3 separate regions of the Homo sapiens genome follow, and all the other regions are linked to region 3. The links are contacts of gene promoters, found by promoter capture Hi-C in blood cells and fetal thymus (Javierre and others, 2016). All regions are on one chromosome and are shown on one strand. Each heading gives the region's core, a stretch centred on a gene start or on the middle of the fragment in contact. The rest is flanking DNA. Distances are from core to core; before and after follow the strand shown.

The links. The method cuts DNA at HindIII sites, captures the fragments that hold promoters and counts their contacts. A CHiCAGO score of 5 or more calls a contact.
Region 1: a contact is called between the fragment with the promoter of SRSF10 here and the fragment with the promoter of PITHD1 in region 3, in 2 of 17 cell types (neutrophils and monocytes). The highest score is 7.9, in neutrophils.
Region 2: a contact is called between a fragment that was not itself captured here and the fragment with the promoter of PITHD1 in region 3, in 5 of 17 cell types (neutrophils, total B cells, monocytes and 2 more). The highest score is 8.6, in neutrophils.

Annotation. Positions count from the first base shown.
Region 1 is chr1:23,979,064-23,982,329 of GRCh38, forward strand. It overlaps SRSF10 (serine and arginine rich splicing factor 10), which reads right to left and starts at 1,264. Exons shown (of 6, transcript NM_054016.4): 1 at 1,128-1,264. The coding sequence starts at 1,192. RefSeq lists enhancers at 491-1,481, 719-768, 1,199-1,528, 1,482-2,472, 1,539-1,588. The HindIII fragment of the contact is 15,744 bases long and covers 1-2,975 here.
Region 2 is chr1:23,910,722-23,913,985 of GRCh38, forward strand. It overlaps CNR2 (cannabinoid receptor 2), which reads right to left and starts at 2,641. Exons shown (of 2, transcript NM_001841.3): 1 at 2,525-2,641. RefSeq lists enhancers at 1,510-1,679, 2,453-2,967. The HindIII fragment of the contact is 3,555 bases long and covers 1-3,110 here.
Region 3 is chr1:23,776,830-23,780,061 of GRCh38, forward strand. PITHD1 (PITH domain containing 1) reads left to right here and starts at 1,589. Exons shown (of 6, transcript NM_020362.5): 1 at 1,589-1,884; 2 at 2,609-2,652; 3 at 3,035-3,112. The coding sequence starts at 1,687. ELOA-AS1 (ELOA antisense RNA 1) reads right to left here and starts at 1,468. Exons shown (of 4, transcript NR_038280.1): 1 at 1,370-1,468. RefSeq lists enhancers at 313-1,265, 2,519-3,232 and silencers at 1,519-1,828, 1,919-1,968. The HindIII fragment of the contact is 11,008 bases long and covers 1-3,232 here.

The sequences.
Region 1 (3,266 bases), core at 14-2,513, 200 kb after region 3:
TTTTTTTTTTTACTTTTACAGCATCAAATCGACTCTAGCACTCTGAAAAATACCAAGCACTTATTTTTACTCCCCAATTTTAGCGACAGATTTACACACTTAACAGTAGATAAATATGGTCTGAAAAAGTCACAAATATCGAACTTCTTAAATAGTTAAGTGTCAAGATGACGTAAAGAGAAAATTTCTCTAGATGCTAACGTAACTATTAGAAATTATGGAAAGAATTATTTATGGAAAGAATTATTGCTTTCTTTCCTTCTTAAATTTAAGACAAAAGCAAATCACAAAGCTAGCAAAAAACCCCCACGAAACACCAAAAACCCAAACCACTTATTTTCTGTGTGTAGATTCATTATTTGTGAAATAAAAAGCCTCATCTTGTAGTAAGAACTCTTCCAAAATAATCTGAAGGCAACTCGAAACAAGGGAATGGTGAGAACAAAGCCTATTTAAGGTACGTCTGAATTAATCTAACTTAGCTGTCAACGTCCTAATGACTGACGCTTCCCAAACCTCCCTTTTCAAAGGGTGACCAGAATTTCCAGGAAATAAGAAAAACTACTCGCAACATTTAACTGGAAAAATCTAACTCCCCAAATCTCAACGCTCCCTTTCTCCAAACACCTCCAACTGATTAAAACCCCCAAATATTAACAACGGCAACAACAACAAAGATAAATGGTAGCAACATTCCTCTCCCTCGATCCCGTTATTTCATCTCACTATTTTTTGGCTGGGGAAAAAAAAAAATCTCTGGGCCAAGGGGGCGTGAACCTCGAAGAATGTGAACTTCAAATCAATGGGGGGCGGCCGTCGGGTCGCGGAAAGGCCGCGGCGGGGGGCTGCTCGCGCCGGCAGGAAGCAGGGAGAAAGGGGCTGCAAACTGCGGAGGGGGAGGGGGACCGAAAAACCCCGCCACGCGGCCCGGCGAAGGCAGAGGCGCCGCCCTCGCTCCCACGCGGCGGCTGAGGCCCGCTGCGCGGCCTAGTTCGGCGCCAAAGCGGGCGCGGGACCCGCCATCTTCACTCCGTCCCCTCCCCCGGCCCAGTGCCGCCACCACCAGGGTCCTCTCCAGGCGCCTGCGGCCTCCCCGCCTAGGCCCGGAGTACCTGCCTTGTACCTACCTGGTGTCGTCGGCCACGTTCCTGACGAACAGAGACGTGTTGGGGGGACGCAGGTAGCGGGACATGGCGGCGGCGTGTCTCGGCCGGGCGCACTAACGGGCTCAGCAAACCGTCCGCGGCTCAGGCGGCCGAGCCTCAGACACACACAGCTAGAGGGCTCTGCTACGGCAACCGACTCTTCTCGCGAGACTTCACTCCCGCCTCCACTTCCCCCTCCTACCTCCGCGCAAAGTCGGGCGCAACGGTTCTTTCCCGCGAGAACACCAGGCGTCCGCCTGCGCATGCGGAGGGCTGGCGCACGCGCCTCAGCGTCGGTGTCATTCGTTGGCTTCTTGCGGTGCCTCTTACCCTCCCCCAAGCCTGTTCTTTCTTTCTTTAGGTCTTCATTTCCCGCCGTTTTCTACCTTACACTCCACTTCATCTCCACCCCCAAATCAGGAAGCAGATGTTTTAGTCTCTAGGCCAAACTTTGCGGTTACTACTAAATGGACAGATTTTTAAACTATTTAGTTCAGAGAGGCTGCCTTAAATTTCCCGGTTGGTCCAAGTTAATGTCCTGCTTTTATTTTGCCTTAAATTTCCCGTTTGGTCCAGGTTATGCCCTGACCTGCGAAAGAAGGATTTACAGCTTGTATTGAGTGTGTAAAGGAAGGAGGTGTGTGCCCTTGCGCAGAGCTGGGCCTGTCTCTCCAGTGTTTTCAGCCTGCCTTTGCCCCTCACCCACACCCTAGCCATCTCCACTTAGTCACGCATTTGGCTCCCAACCTGGGTGGGACCAAACCTCACACTGTAGGTTCATGACTGTGGTCATTTGTAGTGTATTCTTTGTTGCTGACGGCTTCCTGGGTATGCATCGGACCTGTATTGCAGCAGTTCTCAAACTTTTTGGTCTCAGAACGCCTTTATATTCTTGTGTATTACGGAAGATTCCAAAGAGCTTTTTTTAAAAAAAGTGTGGGTTATACCTATTAATAAATAGTTAATGAGAACTTAAAATAGAGGAAACTTCGGCTGGGCTCGGTGGCTCACGCCTGTAATCCCTCCCTGTACTTTGGGAGGCCGAGGCGGGCAGATCACGAGGTCAAGAGTTTGAGACCAGCCTGACCAACACAGTGAAACCCCATCTCTACTAAAAATACAAAAATTAGCCAGGCGTAGTGGCGCGCGCCTGTAATCCCAGCTACTTGGGAGGCTGGGGCAGAAGAATCGCTTGAACTCGGGAGGCAGAGGTTGCAGTGAGCCGAGATTGCACCACTGCATTCCAGCCTGGGCGACAGGGTGAGACTCCGTCTCAAAAAAGAAAAAAAAAAAAAATAGAGAAAACTTTGACACACTCCACTACCCTTTATCACACATCATGTACCCTCTGGAAAACTCCACGTTTGTAAGAGAATGAGCATGAAAATAGCAAATAATCTTTAGTATGGTTTTGATTTTGGAGGCCCTTTTGAGAGCCATTTCCTGCTCGATAAGAGTCAACTTCTGGAGATGAGAGACTTCAGTTGGAATGCCTCCAGCGTGTGGCACAGTGCCAAGCAGGTAGCAGGGACTCAAGTACTGTTAAATTAAATGAACTTTTATTTAATAAAAAGTCATAAAGGCATTATTTTTGTGTCAATCAGCATCTAAGACAATTAAGTGATTCGATACAGGTGATGATAGTTTGTAGCACTCTGTAGCAGAGCTATTCTAAATTTTTGTTTCCCAAGATTTGCATGCTTAATTTATTAAAATGTTGGGCCAGGCAAGGTGGCCCCAAAATCCCAGCATTTTGGGAGGGTGATGTGAAAAACAAAACAAAACAAAAAAAAGTTTGATTCCCTGTTATGTGTCAGACATTGTGCTAGAAGCTTGAAATTCAGTAATGAAAAACATACAGCTTATATTTCTAGGGCGATGGCAATGAGAAAATAAAGTAAATGCAGGTTTGTTATATGAAAGAAACAGTAATGTGATAGGTTTTTTCTTGTTTTTGATTTTTACTTATTTTTATTTTATTTTATTTTTTGAGATGTAGTCTTGCTCTGTTGACCAGGCGTGAATGCAGTGGCTGGATCTTGGCTTACTGCAGCCTCCGCCTCCTGGGTTCAAGCGATTCACCTACGTCAGCCTCCCGAGTAGCTGGGACTACAGGCTCCT
Region 2 (3,264 bases), core at 83-2,582, 130 kb after region 3:
AAAACAAGAGCCCCTTTGAGGCAGGTTGGGAATGCTATGATAGCGTCATTTTTAGAGTTGAAGAAACTGAGGTTCAGAAAGGTGATGTAACTTGCCCCAGGTTGCCTGAGTAATTGATGAGGGAGACTTGGGTTTCCATGTGATTCCATGTGATTGATAGCACAAGCTCTGAACCCACAGCGCAGGACTCTCTGCTCACACTGGCTCCGCTATTCCTTGGCTGTGTGACACTGAGCAAGTCAACACTGCTGCTGAGTCTTGGTTTTTCTCATCTGTAAGATAGGGCTGCCTGTCTCTTTTCAGAGTGCCCTTTGTGTCTCGTGGCTCGGGGACTTTTTTCAGGGGTGAGAGTAGGAAGCAGAAGCTATTTGAAGACAACCCTTCTTCCTGTCCTTTCCTGAGAACCTGAGCGCAGTGAGAAGGTTAGGTCACGTGGGTGGGGGGTGGGGAGAGAAGAGTGTCCATCTGCCATCCACAGCCAAGGGGAGAGGAGAGATTGTCCTTGGCTGGGAGGGGACCGAGGTCTTGGGCACCTAGAATTTGCTTTCTGGGAAGATGGCAGGACCTCTGGGGGAAGTCACTGGGTGATATATCCTGGATGTCAAAATGAGACACAGTGGTTTCAGGTCTTACAAAGAATCTGGACTCCAGGCATGCCAGGGAAGTGGGCAAGGCTGGACTTCAGACAATCAAGTCCATTTGGGCAATGGGCATCCATCGTAGGAGGACCCAGGAGCCTCCCTCACGCTTATGTTCTGTGTGTCCTCTGGGTCAATGTGCATGGGTGGGGATGGGAGTGAGGGAAGCTCAGTGCACTTGGAGATTAAATTTCCTCCTAGCCCAGTAGGATGAGGCTCAGGGTCCTATTGAATGTGACTTCAACTGAATAAAGAAAAGATCAATTTATGCACACCCGAGGGTGTGCAGTAAGAGTGACTGGTACTGTAAAATGAGGTGGGAAGAGAGGGGGCTGGCGCTGGAGGGCTCTGCTTGGCTGAGCCAGGCTGCCATTTTCCCGTCTTCACTGCCTTATCCTGGCCTTAGCCGGCCAAAGGGTAAAGGATATGCTTCACCTGCCCAGCGCAGGTTAGGGGGTCACTCTGGTAAGCCACAAGGTGGTTACAGAGCTGGGGCCAGGATTATTGGGACTCCACCTCCTGAGCTCTCCCTGAACTTCTCCCCAGCCTCCATCCTGGTTTTCATGCTGCCAACGTGTCTACTTGCCACTCATTCCAGGGAAAAGCAGCCAGGCCTCATTTTATCCTCATCTCAGATCCACAGCAAGAGCAGATGGGGTGAAGATCAAACTCTCCACCACAGCCATTCCCGAGCCCTGTGCTGCTGCCCGCCCTGTGCCCGCATCAGACAGTTGACTCGCAACAAGCCTGTGAGTGACCTTCTCAGGCCCATGTTTCTCAGAAGAGGAAGCTGAGCAGGAAAGAAATGGAGTGATTTGCATTAGGCCATCGAGCTACCAGTGGCAGAGCTGGGATTCAGACCTGGACGCTGACCCCAGGGCACACTGGAAAATACTGCTCTTCCCTCCGCTGAGTGGAACTTACACCAAAGCAGACCCCTGGCCTCCTGAGTCCAGTGTGCCCCTAACACTACCTTGTGGTCTCCCCATCTATAAAATGAGAGCGCAGGACTCACCTGGTCATCTCAAAGGCCTCTGCCAGCCCCTGTCATTTCCTGGCCCCCATCTACTGTTGCAGTCCACACCTCGTAAGGCAGGATAGCCTGGTGGCTGAAGGGTGGGCCGCGAAGCCGGAGTGCCTAGGCTCAAGCCAATGCTCTCATTCAATGCCCGCATGATTTCAGGTGGGTCACCTAGCCCCCACCTATCAAGTGGACAACAGTGATAGCTCCTACTGCATACGGCTGTTGTGAGGATTAAATAAATCCAACCACTAAAGGCTCTTAGGGCAGCGCCTGGCACACAGTAAGGCCATCTCTGTGTGTGTGATTCTTGTCTCTGTAATGAAATGAAAGCCAAAGTCCTGATTCTTGGTCCTAGGAGGGGGATGCCAGCCCTGAACTTTCCTGCGACTGGTCCTCCACAACCCCAGGTGTCCTGAAATGACATCTATCCCCTGCCCCAGACAGGCCCACCTGGCTTCTTGTGTCCCTGGAGGGAAGGGATAAGGTAAGAATACAGGTTTTGGCCAGGTGCAGTGGCTCATGCCTGTAATCCCAGCACTTTGGGAGGCCAAGGTGGGCAGATCACCTGAAGTCGGGAGTTCGAGACCAGCCTGGCCAACATGGTGAAACCCTGTCTCTACTAAAAATACAAAAATTAGCCAGACGCAGTAGTGCACACCTGTAATCCCAACTACACGGGAGGCTGAGGCAGGAGAATCGCTTGAACCTGTGAGGCTGCACTGAGCCGAGATTGTGCCACTGTACTTTAGCCTGGTCAACAGAGCAAAACTCCGTCTCAAAAACAAACAAACAAACAAAAAAGAATACAGGTGTTGGGGAATGAGGAAGAAGCCTAAAATAAACAACAAAAAAAGCTACTCACGGTTGTGTTGTGGGTGGCTGGGCACTGGGAGCTGCCGGGGGCTGAGGAGTCCCAGTTGTTTTCTGTCCTCTCCCAGGACCTGGCCGTGGGTGCCACTCAGAGCACCTGTTGAGTGCCACCCCAAGCCAGCTTTCTCTTGCTTTTGTACTTTCTCACAGATGAGTGAGTGTGAGGAGGTCTGGCCTTCCGTGCCTGTTACCACTTCCCCTCCAGGTCCCTGGTGCCACAATGCTCTTGCCCCTGCGGTTGAGTTATCTCTTACAACGAACTCTGGCCAGGGTGGGGCATGGGCCTAGACCCTGGAGTCAAGGGACTTGGGTTCTAATACAGCCTCGTTAAAATGTTGATTCACTTAACTTCCCCAAAGGCAAGTTTCTTTATCTGTAAAATGGGGATAATGCACCAACATTACAGTAGATCACCTAAAAGGACATGCCATTCCAATGCCTCTTCACCACTAGGCCAGAGCTTTGAAATGCAAATGCCTACAGGCAGATTAACATAATGGGTGATGGATCCTGGTGTGGGGCAATAGGGAGTGGTAGGGACTGTGGGTAATAGGGGGAACACAGGACCCAAGTGGAAAAGCTTGGCTGGAGCTGAGAGGTACCTGACCCTCTCTACTGGCCCAGCTGAGAGGTATCTGCCCCACACCCCAGACCCTGATCTGGGCCAGTAGAGAGGGGCAGGTACCTCTTAGTTCCAGCCAAGCTTTTCTGCTTGGGAGTATAGGCAAATTG
Region 3 (3,232 bases), core at 339-2,838:
CCAGAAAATATTTCTGAATGGAACTTGAAAAAATGGATATTTTGGTCTATACTTCACCAGCCCCACTGAGCACTCCAGAGCCAGATGTGAAGGGAAGAGGGTAGCCAGGGTATCCCATAACTCTCTTTCTGTATCCTGTCTTTTCCCCACCAGGGAGTAGGAAAACATTCTATCCTGAAAACAAGATTATTTCACCTCTAAACAGTGACTTTTAATTATTTTGATCTCAACCCACAATATGAAAAACACATCATATTGTGTCTGAATACAAACTCAAAACTGAAACAAAAGTTTCATCAATTGAGACTTGAAATGTGTGATACATTCTGGGTTTTTTTTTTTTTGTATTCTATTTTTTTTTTAAATGTTGATCACAATTCTCTATAAACGGATTTTAAAACCTATTGACAGGCCACAACCAGCTGTTCGAAAAAAAGTACTTTGAAATATCACATGGGGGAGGAAACGCAGAGATCATCTAGTCCAATCCCTTCACTTCACAGGGGGTAAACTGAGTCTCAGAAGATCAAGTCACTTGCCCAAGGCCACGCAGCTAGTAAGTTGCTGTGGTTGGATTTGACCGTAATAACCATCGGCTACTGAATGCCCATCATGTGTCAGCCATTTGCTGAGTTTTTTCTTTTTTTTTCTTTTTGAGACAGAGTCTTGCTCTGTCGCCAGGCTGGAGTGCAGTGGCGCGATGTCGGCTCACTGCAACCTCTGCCTCCCGGGTTCAAGCGATTCTCCTGCTTCAGCCTCCCGAGTAGCTGGGACTACAGGCTCGCGCCACCACGCCTAGCTAATTTTTGTATTTTTAGTAGAGACGGGGTTTCATCATGTTGGCTAGGATGGTCTCGATCTTTTGACCTCGTGATCCGCCCGCCTCGGCCTCCCAAAGTGCTGGGATTACAGGCGTGAGCCACCGCGCCCGGCCTGCTGAGTTCTTTAATTGCATTATTTCATTTAATACTCACTGTGATCCTATGAAACAGATACTATTCTTTCCACCTTACAGACGGGGAAACGGAGTCTCAGAATAGGGGAAATGACTTAAGGTGTCACAATGGCCAGTAGCAGACCCAGGAGTAGTCTTTAGGTCTGGCCGTGCACAAAGCCCCATGCTCTCAAGCTGTAACCCCGCTATCAAGAAAGTGGTTATGCAAGTGGGCCTGTGAGCTCTCAACGTCTAAGCCGTGCGCATGTGAGACAGCGATAAGCTCGCGTTCTCCAGTCTCCAGGGCCTTATCATTCCTCACGCTTTCCTTCATCGGCTCGCAAAGAAACGTGGCGATCAAGGAAGACAGCGAAGGCTCCATCCTCGTCGGGGGAGGATAATTCGAATCTCAGCCTGTGAGTTTACTCAGCACACCTGTTTAATCTCTTGGTCCTTCAGTTTCCACACCTAGGAAGCTGGAACAGCAGCAGCATCCAGCGCCAGGACTGGAGTCATATACGAACTCTGGCACCTGGGAGGCGCGCGTCCTACGTCAGTTCCGCTCGACCCCACCCCCCCCGCCCCCCCGCCTTCTCCCCACGCGCATGCGCCGCGCAGCGGCGCTTTTTACGACGCGGCAGGCGCGGCGCGCTTAGTTGCCGGAGCTGAACGGCGCGGAGCTGGTCTGAGGCGAGCCGAGCCGAGCGAGCGCGGCGGTGGGGCCGAGAGGACGCGCAGGTGGCGGCGTTGCCATGTCGCACGGTCACAGCCACGGCGGGGGTGGCTGCCGCTGCGCCGCCGAACGGGAGGAGCCGCCCGAGCAGCGCGGCCTGGCCTACGGCCTGTACCTGCGCATCGACCTGGAGCGGCTGCAATGCCTTAACGAGAGCCGCGAGGGCAGCGGCCGCGGCGTCTTCAAGCCGTGGGAGGAGCGGACCGACCGCTCCAAGGTGGGCCGCCTGGGGCTTGGGGCGGGCGGGGCAGGGTGCGTGTGGGGCCTCGGGCCGTCGGTCTACTCATTTCTGATGTTAAGAATAACGACAGCCTGGTTGCCAAGCGCTTTTCCGTGCCTGTCTCCTGCCAGCTCTTTGGGAGGCGAGCAGCGTTGTCTCCCCATTTTGCATATAGGGAAACTGAGGCCTAGAGGGAACGGGGACAGTTTTGTCAAGCTACACAGCCTAACGCTCTATTCCAGGGCTGTGTGGGCTAGAGAGGATGGTCGTGAGGGCCGTTGGACCATTGGTGCTAATGGCTGCCTCATCATATTACCTGGTGAAGATGAGCCTAGGGAGATGAAAGGTGGTTCCCATATAGAGCAAATGTTCTTTACATTGTGGGGTCGCAGGCCCCTTTGCTATCTGTTTGAAAGCAGTGGACCTTCTTCTCAGAAAAATGCACATAAACACCTGCCTTTCAGTTCACACTTCAGAAGGCTCTTCGACCCTGGAAATTCATTCATGGGCTTTTTGTTAAGAACCTTCCAGTTGGGTGGCCTGTGGCTGTTATGACACTGGATAAGACTGGTTAGCTTCAAGTTAATAAGTCTTGGAAAACCAAGGGAGAGTGACTCTTCCCATTGCACCCCAGTTGTAGAGCAGGGTGGGAGATGCCTGAAATTGTAGGCTCTCAGCAAATATTTGTTGCTTTCTCCTCCCCCCTCCCCATCCCCTCCAGTTTGTTGAAAGTGATGCAGATGAAGAGCTTCTGTTTAATATTCCGTAAGTATCTCCTTGGTGCCTACCTCAGGCTAAATAGGCTGTACCCAGTTGCCTCAGATGGATTCATTCACTGGTGTCAAGAGCACACATTTGCTTCTAGAAATGGGATAAATTACTTTGGTGGGTTTGAGGAGGAAAGCATCATAGCTTTCTTGGTGCAGACTGGAAACAGATGTATTTGTAGAACAATAACTGAGAAATTGAGGTAGATTTCTTAGAATTGTAGAATGCTAGAGGTAGACAGGATCTTAGAAATTATCTAGTACAAGTTGACAGATGAGTAAACTGAAGCCCATACAGGGGAAGGGTCTTGCCCAGGGTCACACAACTAAACAGGTATTCAAACTCAGGTTTGACAACCTTCTCTTTTGCATTCTGGCAGATTTACGGGCAATGTCAAGCTCAAAGGCATCATTATAATGGGAGAGGATGATGACTCACACCCCTCTGAGATGAGACTGTAAGTGGCAAAGGCTTAGGCCCTCAAAGGAGCTCCTAATTCTCTTTTTCTGGTAACATTTTATTCCAGAATAGTATCATTTTCTTCTTACCGGGTTTAATATTTCCCCTTTTAAAATAT